Regions from separate parts of the Homo sapiens genome. Here regions 1, 3 and 4 are each linked to region 2. Evidence: promoter capture Hi-C in human tissues and cell types (Jung and others, 2019). All regions are on one chromosome and are shown on one strand. The core of a region is centred on a gene start or on the middle of the fragment in contact, and the rest is flanking DNA. Distances in the headings are between cores, read along the strand shown.

Region 1 (2,936 bases), core at 156-2,655, 150 kb before region 2:
TGTCGTCTGTCTTGCCCTTTTTCTCCTCACTGGGCTGACAGCACATCTGGGTCTGGGCCCTGGGATGCCTCACAGCCACCTGGAGTGGAGGTTTCTGGTGAGGAGTTTCTTTTTCTGTTTCCTGAAGTTTCCTTTCCTCAATTTGTTGTCTTTGTCTTGTCCTTACTCTTTCTTTCTTCTCCTAGGTGTTGATTCTAATCCACATTAATGAGATTTGCTGGGTGTAGTAAACTAGGCTAGAGGGAGCTGAGCTAAAATTGGCAGTGTGGCACCTTGGGCGCTGACAGAAGCTGCTAGTGGTTGGGGTAGGGCTTTCTGCATTTTTGTGACTGTTTTGCTCAATGGAGTTCAGGGCGGACTCTTTGGTGAGGAGAGGTGCATCCCCACCACTGTCCTGCCTGCCCTGCAGTGGCCCCGTGTGAAGAGACCCTCAGCCCGGCCCTTCTCAAACCTGTCTGCCCTCAAGCGAGTCGGGTGTGTGTCTCAGGGTCCTCAACCCATTTTAGTCAACACTCACTAAAGACCCTTAGGCCTTTGTACATTTTTAATAACCATTTTTATAACGTGGGTGACTAAGAATGTTGGCAGTATGGTGATTCCTGCAGGTAGAAGCTGCTGTCTGTGAGCTCTGGTCAGTTACTTTTCTACAAAACACAGACTTCTCCTGTTCTGTTTAGTAGAAGGAATTAGGATTCAGGTTCTTGAATGAAGAGTTATGGGCAAAAATCAGGGAACATTGTATTTAAAAGAAAATTTGTTTTGTTAATTAGTAAACATTCCGGGGAACGTTCATTAAAGAATGACAAACTGCAGAGTTTGTGAAGCTTTTGAAGAGAGTTATATGTGTTTTTTCTTATTAATTAAAAATATTTTTAAAAAATTTTTCTTAGACTAAGAATGCCAACATTCTAGGATTCTGCTGGACTAGTTCAACTGAAATTGTCTTCATAACAGATCAAGGAATCGAATTTTACCAGGTATTATGTTTATCATTTATGTTTGTTGGTTAAAGTTCAGTGATAGCATTCTGGCAGCCTTTTGAATTCAGTACTGAATATATATATATATATTTTAAACATTTTCTAGAGATGGAGTCTTGCTCTGTTGCCCAGGCTGCAGTGCAGTGGCACCATCATGGCTCACTGTAATCTCAAACTCCTGGGCTCAAGCAATCCTCCTGCCTCAGTCTCCTGAGTAGGTGGGACTACAGGCATGTACCACCATGCCTGGCTAATTTTTCTTTTTATTATTTTATTTTATTTTATTTTATTTTTGAGACGGAGTTTCGCTCTTGTTGCCCAGGCTGGTGGAGTGCAATGGCGCGATCTCGGCTCACCGCAACCTCCGCCTCCCAGGTTCAAGCGATTCTCCTGTCTCAGCCTCGTGAGTAGATGGGATTACAGGCATGCATCACCATGCCCGGGTAATTTTGTATTTTTAGTAGAGACGGGATTTCTCCATGTTGAGACTGGTCTCGAACTCCCGACCTCAGGTGATCCACCCGCCTCGGCCTCCCAAAGTGCTGGGATTACAGGCGTGAGCCACTGCGCCCGGCCCTGGCTAATTTTTAAACTTTTTTGTAGAGACGAAGTCTTGCTATGTTGCCCAGGCTGGTGTCAAACTCCTAACCTCAACTCCTGCCTTGGCCACTCAGCTTTAGTCTCTTGCTGGGGATTTTATTCTTTTTTTTTTTTTTTATAATTGCAAGTAATAAATTAAAAAAAAAAAAAAGAAAAGAAAAAGGGCTTGGTGGCCCATGCCTGTAATTCCAGCTCTTTGGAAGGCCAAGGTGGGTGGATGGCTTGAGTCCAGGAGTCTGAGACCAGCCAGGCCAACATGATGAAATCCCATCTCTATAAAAAATACAAAATGTTAGTCAGGCATGGTGGTGTGCGCCTGTAGTCCCAGCTACTTGGGAGGCTGAAGTGGGAGGATTGCTTGAGCCTGGGAGGCAGGAGGTTGCAGTGAGCCAAGATCACAGCACTGCACTCCAGCCTGGATGACAGTGAGACCCCATCTCAAAAAAAAAAACAAAAACACAACAACATTAAAAAGTGGGCAAAGGCCAGGTACAGTGGCTCACACCTGTAATCCCAGCACTTTGGGAGACCGAGGTGGGCAGATCACCTGAGGTCAGGAGTTCGAGACCAGCATGGCCAACATGACGAAACCCTGTCTCTATTAAAAATACAAAAATTAGCCAGGTTGGTGGCAGGCACCTGTAATCCCAGCTACTAGGGAGGCTGAGGCCAGGGAATTGCTTGAACCTGGAAGGCGGAGCTTGTAGTGAGCTGAGATGGTGCCACTGCACTCCAGCCTGGGCAACAGAGCGAGACTCCGTCTCAAAAAAAAAAAAGTGGGCAAAGGACATGAGCAGACACTTTTTAAAAGAAGACACACATGCGACCAACAAACATAAAAGAGCTCAACATCACTGATCATTAGAGAAATGCAAATCAAAACCACAATGAGAAACTATCTCACACTAGTCAGCATAGCCATTATAAAAAAGTCAAAGAATAACAGATACTGGCAAGGTTGTGGAGAAAAGGGAACCCTTATGCACTATTGCTGGGAGTGTAAATTAGTTCAACCTTTGTGGAAAACAGTATGGCGATTCCTCAGAGAGCTAAAAGCAGAACTACTGTTTGACCTAGCAGCCCCATTACTGGGTGTAATATGCAGAGGAATATAAATTATTCTACCATAAAGGCACATGCACGTGAATGTTCATTGCAGCACTGTTCACAATGGCAAAGACATGGAATCATCCTAAATGCCCATCAGTGACAGATTGGATAAAGAAAATGTGGTACATATATACCATGGAATACTATGCAGCCATAAAAATGAACAAGATCATGTCTTTTGTGGGAACATGGATGGAGCTGGAGGCCATCATCCTTAGCAAACTAACACAGGAACAGAAAACCAAA
Region 2 (3,385 bases), core at 435-2,934:
TAACACTGCTGACTCCTAAATCTCATCTCTAGCTGCTGCCCAGACTTGCCTCCTGGGATCGAGGAGAGTATATCTGTCTAATCAACATCTCTGCTTGGATTCCCATCTATCCTCAAAATTTATCCCAAACCAAACGTTTTATCTTTATCTCTCTTGCCTTCCCTACTGAATTATGCCGATTTAAAACTTTTAAAGTCGGCCGGGCGTAGTGGCTCACGCCTTTAACCCCAGCACTTTGGGAGGCCAAGGAGGGTGGATCACCTGAGGTCAGGAGTTCGAGACCAGCCTCGCCAACATGGCAGAACCCCGTCTCTACTAAAAATACGAAAAAATTAGCTGGGCATGGTGGCGCACGCCTGTAATCCCAGCTACTCTGGAGGGTAAGGAAGGAGAAATAGCTTGAACCCGGGAGGCGGAAGTTGCAGTGAGCTGAGATCACACCATTGCACTCCAGCCTGGGCAACAAGAGCAAAACTCCGTCTCAGGAAAAAAAACTTTAAAGTCATTCACATTCGTCTGCTTCGTTCCATTCTCACCACCTATGCACTGGTCCAGTACCATTTCTTAAAAAGATGACAACATCTTCCAGCTCCAACCCTCTTCTCCAAACCTAGCCAGAGATCTTTGCAACATGCACATCTCGCCATGTCACTCCTCTGCTTACATGAGCTATTGTCGGCAACGGGATTACAGTGGCTTAGGAGTCAGACACACTTGGGTTTCAGTCTTAACACCATAACTTATTGGCTGCAAAACCGTGGGTGAGTTAATTTCTCTATATCTTAGTTTTCTCATTTGAAAAAAAAAAAAAAAAGAGCCACGAAGAGCACCTCCCACAGGTCTCCCCCAGGGTTGAGACCATACACACCATGTCCTTGGTTCAGAGTCAGGCACATTTGAACTGTTTAATACATTTTAACTGCTATTTTTATTAAACCCTTTCAATCGAGGCAAATCAACCTCTTTCATCCTAAAATGTGGGGATTAGATGGAATGACTTTAATCAACTCTTTTGAGACAAGACACCTTTGGACCCTGAAGCCTCCCTGGGTGCTGGCCACCCCTCCGGGGAGGAGGCATCCGTGGGTGCAGCTGGTACTCCTGCATGAGGACCCAGAGGGTCAGGGTCGGGGACTCCTTCTGCTGCAGGACAGCGCTGACCCCAGGCTTCTTACCCGCCCCCGACCTGTTACCCGGCGACAGTCCCCGCCGCCCCGTCGCCGGGCACAGACTCAGCCGATCCACAGCCATGAGTGCGAAGCCTCTCAGGCAGGGCAGGCAGGCAAACCGCAAACCCACAGGGCGCACCCAGCCCCGCCGCTTCCTCCCGGGCCTCGCCCGCAGCTGGAGGAGAGAGGAAGGAGGAGGCGGCGGGCAGCGGGCAGCGCCCACCCCATCCCACCCCATCCCACCCCACCCGACCCCGCGGGCCCGGCCGCCCGAGCCCGGCCCCAGCCCTGACCCCGGAGTCCCGGTCGCTCACCTTGAAGGACATCCTGCACATGTCCGCGGCCGCCCGAGCGGGAGCCGGCGCGCTTTGGGCCCGGGGCGCCTTGTCCTCCCCGGCCCTTCACTCTCCCGGGGCTCTCGGCGTTCCGCAGAGGGGCGGCCTCCGACGCCGCGCGCTCCCGCCGCCCGGCCCGGCAGCAGCCGCCGCACACAGGGCCGGGCCGAAGGGGCGGCGCGGGGGCGCGCGCGCGCGCACACTACACATGGGGTGTCGCGTGGACGCGCTCCAGGACCTGCCACACACGCGCGTGCACAAACACCCCAAACTCCGCACGCACTGTGCACTTTCCACACACGTCCACACTTCCACACTCACTCGTCCACACACACACTCCAAACTCCACACACATTGTGCATACGCTCCACATTCCACACACACAGAGGTTCCACACACATACTTTCCACACTCACGCCCACTCACCCGCATGTACTCACACACAAACTCCATACATATCCTCCCAAATAGACTGGTCTGCCCCAGAGGACTCCCAACCTTCATTACAGCACAAATATTATAATGATGTAAAAATGAAGCTTGAGGAAAAAATTCATCCAATAGCTATTTTCGTTATAATTTCTTTCTCGGTTTCCTGGGAAACTTTTTTCTCCTGGGGAAAATATCTAGGAAACAAACCTTTTGATTGCACAAACAATAAGTGGTCTTTTCCTCTTTGAAGGGCAAAGGCCAATTTTGGAATAGACTCATACCCCTCCTCCTCCTCCGCGTTATTAATCCAGCAGTTCCCTCCTCCTCTGGGTCTGATGCTGCAGCCCTGGAGTATTGCAGTATGTGTGTCCACTCCTGCTGCCTGCCCAGGATTGGTTTGGGCGAAGTAAAACTGGGAGTTTTAAGTATAAACGGCAACAACAGCTCTTTGAGAGCATTTTAGAAAAGTGAAAGTAAAAAAGTAGCCCAGGCATAGTGGCTCACGCCTATAATCCCAACTCTTTGGGAGGCCAAAGGCGGGCAGATCACTTGAGTCCAGGAGTTCGAGATCAGACTGGCCAACATGGCAAAACTCTATCTCTACTAAAAATACAAAAATTAGCCAGGCGTGGTGGTGCGCACCTGTAGTCCCAGCTACTCGGGAGGCTGAGGTGGGAGGATCGCTTGAACCTGGGAGGTTGAGGCTGCAGTGAGCCAAGATTCGGTCACTGCACTCCAGCCTGGGCAACAGAGCAAGACTCTGCCTCAAAAATAAAAATAAAAACAAAACAAAAAAATAGTATAAAAATGGAGGTCTTACCCCCTCAAACTATAAGAATCCACTCATTCATTCTCCCCCTCCTTCCCTCTTCTCAATTAAATTTGTAACGAATATTTAATTTAAAAGGTAGAAAACAATTACAAATAAAAGTTAATGATAAAAATTAAAATGTTTAACCTTCATGGATAAATTGTATTACTTTGTGCTTAAAACAACTTTAAATTAAAAACATTCTGAACTTTTATAGAAAATTCCAATTTTAAAAATAAGGACTCTAAACATTTTCCTTGCCTTGAGTGCCTATAAATGACACAGTTTTTAAGTTGCCACACAACGTTATTATATAAAAATCAAGCATCAGAGGTTTTGCTTTAATAGTTTTTTGTTTGTTTGTTTGTTTTTTCTTCTCAGATGGAGTTTCGCTCTTTTGCCCAGGCTGAAGTGAAGTGGCATGATCCTGGCTCACTGCAACCTCCACCCCCCGGGTTCAAGCAATTCTCCTGCCTCAGCCTCTCGAGTAGCTGGTATTATAGGCTCCTGTCACCGTGCCCAGCTAATTTTTGTATTTTTAGTAGAGACAGGGTTTCGCCATGTTGGCCAGGCTGGTCTCGAACTACTGACCTCAGGTGATCCACCTGGTTCGGCCTCCCAAGGTGCTAGGATTACAA
Region 3 (3,282 bases), core at 234-2,733, 230 kb after region 2:
CTGGGCAACAGAAAAAAAAAAGCCAATTTGATAGAGAAAAATTGTGTATCATTTTAATTTACATTGTTTTGTTTAAACTTTAAAAGAGTTTGACTAATTTTTGTTTAACCGGAAAATGAATTCAACCAGATTTCAAGTAAGGCATAACCACCCTAGACTGGGGTTATCTGAAATGTTTATGGATAAGGTGGGACTTTGGTAGGTCCAAGGGGTTACTAGAACCCAGTGGAGCCAGAAGATGGAAGTGGGAGGCAGGTTAGGTTGGGGAAGCAAGGCAGAAAAGCCCAAGGGGCTGGAAGACACTTGCCATGTGTAGGAGGTGGGGACTGCCTTAGACTGGGGACACTGAGCAGCAGCTAAGGAGCCCAATTCTATGGCAAAAGATGGTAATGGAAGGTTCTTCTGTTTTCCATTTTCCATTTCAGCAAAAGGAGCATTTCTCACACTTGCCTTACACTTATTCAGTTATTCTTTCAATGAAAAATGTATGGAGGTCCTAGTATATATATGTCTGGCACAGTGCTAAGTACTGGAGGCACATTAACAAACAGCACAGACAGTGTCCTCAAGGGCTTTCCAGTCCAGTGGTGGACAGACATCAAAACATGCCATTAAAATAGCGAGAGATGGGAGAACTGGGCTAAGTTGAGCTGCAATTAGGAGGTATATCCAACCAGCGAGAAGGGAAGGATGTGGGGAGTGGGAAAGGATTCTAGGCTCTGAGGTTTAAAAGCCACAGGGGACCAACACCTGGGAGAGGCGTCCTAATTTCATCCTCTTTATGGCTCTTCACAAACAATGAAGCATTAAACAGCAACAGGCTCGGTGAGACATCCATTTGGCAGGCAAAATTTTTAATTAACAGTACTTCTCTCAGCTGATGTTTGTTATATCTGATGTCTCAAGAAAACAAGCTATTATTTCTTTAAAAAATTTTTTGAAGCTTTTTCATGGATAAATGCCATTTTATGTCAACATTTTTCATTTGTTAGACACAGCACCCAGACATCATTCCTGGCACTAGTGATTAACTACACAATGATAAACACAAGGACAGTCAAGGGTGAAAAGCAGGAATATAGATTATGCAGGAGACTAGCTGGATAGAAGCCAGAGTGGCCAGCTGTGGGGAGGGTTTCGCAAAGGCTTTCCAGCCCATGCATGCTCTTACCCCTCTTCTCCCTCAGACACACAGGGCCACACAAGACAAGCCTATTTTCTGCTCTTTATTTGTTGTACCAATGTCATTCGTGAAATCAGGAGGTTTTACTTCAGTCCTTTGGGTTTAGCCACTGCCATAAATTGAGAATAAGAGAACCAGTTATTTCTTATAACCAGTAAGTAATGCTTTGCAAGAGTAAGGAAGAAGTAGAATCGAACTTCCTGAATATTTCTGTGATTTAAATATAAGGTACTTTGTAATTATGCATCTATTACATGGGAAGTTTAGATGTAGGTAAGAAAGACATCAAAAATAAAGTATTCTAGAACACAGAGCTTCTGCATAACATGATCTGTTAGGTAGAATACCAAGCCAGTCACAAAGTAAAGCCCTATTATTAGTATATGACCACCCTGCTTAGTAGACTTAAATAGGCCACCTCAGCCTAGTTACCTTCTGGATTATTAGGGGATACATGGGCCTTCTGCTTTCTTGTAATAATTTCAAATGATGCCAATTAGAAGATGAATATTTTGTCATGTCTTATTACGATAGCTACCCTTCATTGTCTGTTATGTGCAGATATTACGCTAGATTCTTTATTACATTATCTCATATTCACTGAGCAAAATAGGTATTATTAGTCCACTCACTTATTCATTCAACAAATGAATGAATATGTGCCAGGTGACCGTAGGGATATATCAGTGAGCAAAACAGCCCAAAACTCCACATCTTCATGGAGCTTATATTTTCATGGGGGCTGTGGGGGGGACCGGTAAAGAAACTGAAGCACAGAGGGTTACAGCAACAGCCCAAGATCACACTAGTAAGTAGTAGAGATAGGAGTCCAGCCAGATCTTACTGATCCTTTACATTATATCAACAGTGTATCCATGGTAATACATTGGTGAAGTATATTGGAAGTACATGGTAACGTGTATTGGAATTGCCTAATTTTTTTTGATGCAGTGCTTAAATTTGGGGAAATGAGGTAAATACCATATTCCCTTGAGTCTATCAAGTCAATTGATGATAAGACACCACACATCAGTTTAATGACAATTTGGGGGTGACTGGATGGGGAGTGGAACTTTATTAATGGAAATATTGTAATTGACATCCCAACTCCAGGAGCATGAATATGTGCTTATTTGACTTTAAAAAAAAAAAAAAATCAAAGAATCAAGGAAATGTGATCTTTAAACTTGTAAACCAGTAATGAGTTCTCATTACTATACTATCTAGAATAAAAAAGGCTCAGGGCCAAAGGTAGCAGCTGTAACTGCTCTCAGTTGTTTAAGAGTCATTATATACAGCACGGCAGCAATTAGTGCAAATATGAATTATGCAGACTTGACATAGTGCAGGCCAGGTGCAGTGGTTCATGCCTGTAATCCCAGCACTTTAGATACTGAGGCAGGAGGATCACTTGAGCCCAGGAGTTCAAGACCAGCCTGGGCAACATAGCAAGACCTTATCTCTGCTAAATATTAAAAAATTAACCAGGCCTGGTGGCATGCACCTGTAGTTCCAGTTTTTTGGGAGGCTGAGGCAGAAGGATTGCTTGAGCCCAGAAGTTCAAGACCAGTCTGGGCAATATAGCAAGACCTCATCTCTACTAAAAATTAAAAAATTAGCCAGAAATGGTGGCATGCACCTGTGGTCTGAGTTTCTTGGGAGGCTGAGACAGAAGGATTGCTTGAGTGCAGAAGTTCGAGGTTGCAGTGAGCTGTGATTGTGCCATTGTACTCCAGCCTGGAGAACAGAGTAAGACTGTCAAGAAAGAAAAGAAAGAAAGAAAGAAAAGAGAGAAATAAAGAAAGAAAGAAAAAGGAAAGGAAAGGAAAAAAGAAAAGAAGAGAAGAGGAAGGGAAGGGAGGAGGGAGGGGGGAGGGAGGAAGGAAGGAAGGAAGGAAGGGAGGGAGGAAGGGAGGAAGGAAGGAAGAAAGGAAGGAAAGGAAGGAAGAAATAATGCAATAGGAAATATTAAGAAACTCCTCCCTCATTCAAAAAATTGGAAATTACATGGATCTTACTTCAGATTTATTTCTGTGAGACAATTCAAGGGGTAAATACCTCTGTATTGAGAAATATTCATTCTTGCAGATCTATGTCGG
Region 4 (3,258 bases), core at 740-3,239, 190 kb after region 2:
TCGGGCCATCTCCAATGGCCCTCTTCTGTTCTGAGGCTTCTCTCTCTGATGGCTTTTATTTTGGGAGGGGTCATCTGCTCTCTCTTCTTTCCGGTCTCTAGACCACCAGAGTCCTTGTGCTCCACACTCGCTGTCTCTCCAGAAATAAGGAATCAGCTGAGAACAGGCTTTACATTTTTGCCAGACTGCCTGATTACATTTAGTCCGAGGGTCACAAGAAGAGAGCAGTTGTTATTAACCTGGGGCCAGGAGCCCTCTGATAAGAGAATGCAAAATTGTGTGTATATGAGAATGAGTCTTTCTGTGAGTTTAGTGGACACTTTTCTGAGAATATGGCCCATAGTTTACCCAGCTTTCCAAAAGCGTCTCCGATCCTCTCCCAGAGTTTACAATCCACTGCACTAGAGCCATCCACTTCAAGCAGAACATTTACACTCTATACCTACATTACTCTAAGTGTGGTTTTGAGGCTACTTCCTTATGGAATCATTTCTGCAGGTATCGAGTAGGGAGAGGTGAGAGGGATGGGGCTGAAAGATGCAACTTGCCAGGAGGTCTTGCAAGTAATGCTGAGTTGGTCCTTTTAGTTGTGCCGAGTGGACAGAAAGGCACCGTCTCCTCCCCTTAGCCCATGTCACAGCTAGAATAGTAATAGCAAATACTTACGTGTGTGCAAGCAACTCCTGTAAGGTTTTTACATGTAATATTTAATCCTCACGACAATCCTGTGAAGTAGATATTGTTACCTCCATTTTTACAGATGAAGAAACTTGGTTGTAAAGTGACCAATTTGCCCAAGGTCCAGTAAGTGGTAGAGTTGGGATTCAAAGCAGGTTACCTGGTTCCAAGTTTATGTTCTTAATCACATACAAAATCCTTTATAAGCAGATATTTGCCAAAGGGAAATAAGCAGATATTTGCCAAAGAGAAACTTAATGGGATATGAAGAGTCGTATTTAACTTTTTTAGGATGGTCACTGGGGTAAGATATTTTCACAGGTATTAGGAGATAGGTGATGGCCTACATTTGGTAGTAATTGAACAATAAAGTGTTATTGCCTATATGCCAATAAAAATGTATTTCTAATACTTCCCTTAGTCCCACAGAAGAGAATCAGTGTGTAGGTAGATCCCAGCTCTGAATGCAGTGCTTGGCTCCCCAGGGCTCGCGGCACTTTCTCTTCCCCTCTCCAACCTCGAGTTCTGGGTTCTCCAGGCACAGCCATAGCCCACTGCTTTTCTGCCTCTGCTCAGCTGTTTGTGTTTTCTTGTCTGCCCGGATCTTCAGTTAAAAGGACCTGCAGATGGTTGAGGGTGGATGACTCAGAGTGACCCTCCCACCCCCCACTGTGCTTTCCTCTGAGCTCTGGCCCTTGCAGGTAACAAGGGACATTAAGATCCACTCTGTCACCCAAGCAGGGAAATTGGGAGTCTTCCTTGTCTTCTCTTCTTTCCTCTACTCCTCATCCAGAATCTTACAGTTCCCAGAAACCTCACCCCAAAATAGTTTGGGAGCCCATCCCTCCTCCCCATCTGGATACCTTTGCCCTAGGTTAGCCCCCAGTCTCTCTCCTGACTTGACATCCTGCTGCTGCTGCTGCTGGAATTCACCCTCTGGGCTCCATCCTTCACACAAGTCCAACCACACCCTCTCCTCCTTAACAGCTGTTCATGTTGCCTTGTTTGTAACTTGCCAAGTGCCAGGCACTGGGATGAAATTTTGCATGCACTGCCTCATGGGTTCCCAGCAATCCCAGGAGGCAGCAGCTACCGTGTTCTGTCCCTCATAGGTATGAAAAGCAGGCTTTGGGAAGTTAAAGAACTTGCTAAGATGGTGTGTCTCATATGGTCAGAGCTGGATTAGAACTGCAGCCTTGCATGCACAGGTCTCAGCTACTGCGCTGTGCTGCCGTGTCCAGCCCCTCTGTCCTGATGATCTGACACCACCTACCTCCTCAGGCCATGGGGCAGCATTCCCTGCCTGGACATCTGCCCCAGCAGCACCATGCTTGTGTTGTTCCCTGTACACACTGAGTGATCTCCCGCTCTGTTCCTTCTGTCTGGAATGCGCATCCCAACTTCTACCCTATGACTCTGCCCTTTAAAGCTCAGGTCAGGAGTCATTTCCCCCAGGGAAACTTGTCACCTGCTACTCCTCTGAACCTCAGTTAGATTCTGTGTAGGTTGTCATCATTTCCACTTATGGGCCATCTGCGGGAGCCCTCCAGGCTCGGGGGCCATGTCCCTTCTTGCGCCCTCAACACCTAGTGCTAAGCCTGACCCATCTACGACGGTCATCCATGACCATCCACAATGGCCATTGGTCAATGACCTACATTCTGTAAGTGCCTTTTATCTGCCTCTCTCCATTCTGCCTTGGACTATAAGCAGGCATTGTATCTATTTAACTGGCTTTGCACACCAATTAGTCCACTATAGTGTAAGTGAGCACTTTAAAATTGTGTGTACAAAGATGATGATTTTTGCTTCCTTTACTTTGTGTACAGATGCAAGCCCAGAATCACAGGGCGGCAGTGTGACCGATGTGCTTCCGGGTTTTACCGCTTTCCTGAGTGTGTTCCCTGCAATTGCAACAGAGATGGGACTGAGCCAGGAGTGTGTGACCCAGGGACCGGGGCTTGCCTCTGCAAGGTAAGAGAGATCGTGCAATGCCAGACAACAGCTGCCGGTCAGCAGGAAAGTGCTTCATGTTGAGTCAACATAGAAAAGTATGTGGGAAATGGGACTGACCCGTAAGAGATGTTGATAGTGTATGTAGCATTTTATAGTCACGATCTCATTTTACAGAAATAGTTAGGAGGTGAGACCCCTTTTATCTTTTGGAGAGGTCTCAGACCGCCTTAGAATCTGATGACGGATATAGACCCTTTCCAGAAAAATCAGCACAAACTTTTATCTACAGTTTCATGAGGTTCATAGGTTCACCTAAAACCCATTCCTGGACCATGGACTCCAGGTGATCATCTCTGCTCCAAGGGGTTCCGCCAGGTTGTAGGAGACCTTCCAATTCCCAGGAGATGTTTTAAGGTGGTGGTGAGTGAGATGAATTGGTCTCCCCATCCTGTGAACCGTATGGTGCTATTTCTCTACTTGCAAGATGCCCCAGGGGCATCTTATGAAATTTAGAGAATTCTCTCCTCCATTTGTGTGTGGTATAAAAGTTTAAACAATTAACATGGGATGAAAGCTTAATAATTAACATCTCTTTTAATGTTTTGCTCACATCCTCATCCTAAC

Evidence for each region. Contacts are between HindIII fragments. The study calls those that stand out against the background at their distance.
Region 1: a fragment that was not itself captured here is called in contact with the fragment with the promoter of ANKRD29 in region 2 in 2 of the 25 tissues and cell types used here (bladder and thymus).
Region 3: a fragment that was not itself captured here is called in contact with the fragment with the promoter of ANKRD29 in region 2 in 1 of the 25 tissues and cell types used here (dorsolateral prefrontal cortex).
Region 4: a fragment that was not itself captured here is called in contact with the fragment with the promoter of ANKRD29 in region 2 in 2 of the 25 tissues and cell types used here (IMR-90 fibroblasts and lymphoblastoid cells).

What each region holds. Positions count from the first base shown.
Region 1 is chr18:23,508,303-23,511,238 of GRCh38, forward strand. RMC1 (regulator of MON1-CCZ1) reads left to right here. Exons shown (of 20, transcript NM_013326.5): 5 at 891-977. It also overlaps a transcript of NPC1 not described here. Among named protein-coding and RNA genes, the nearest start is that of RMC1, 6.3 kb to the left of the region's middle. The HindIII fragment of the contact is 4,548 bases long and covers 1-2,936 here.
Region 2 is chr18:23,661,227-23,664,611 of GRCh38, forward strand. ANKRD29 (ankyrin repeat domain 29) reads right to left here and starts at 1,685. Exons shown (of 10, transcript NM_173505.4): 1 at 1,484-1,685. The coding sequence starts at 1,504. The HindIII fragment of the contact is 14,259 bases long and covers 1-3,385 here.
Region 3 is chr18:23,886,615-23,889,896 of GRCh38, forward strand. All of the region lies in intron 41 of LAMA3 (laminin subunit alpha 3), which reads left to right. Among named protein-coding and RNA genes, the nearest start is that of LINC02958, 94 kb to the right of the region's middle. The HindIII fragment of the contact is 3,091 bases long and covers 1-3,029 here.
Region 4 is chr18:23,855,337-23,858,594 of GRCh38, forward strand. It overlaps LAMA3 (laminin subunit alpha 3), which reads left to right. Exons shown (of 75, transcript NM_198129.4): 33 at 2,508-2,652. Among named protein-coding and RNA genes, the nearest start is that of LINC02958, 130 kb to the right of the region's middle. The HindIII fragment of the contact is 6,118 bases long and covers 1-3,258 here.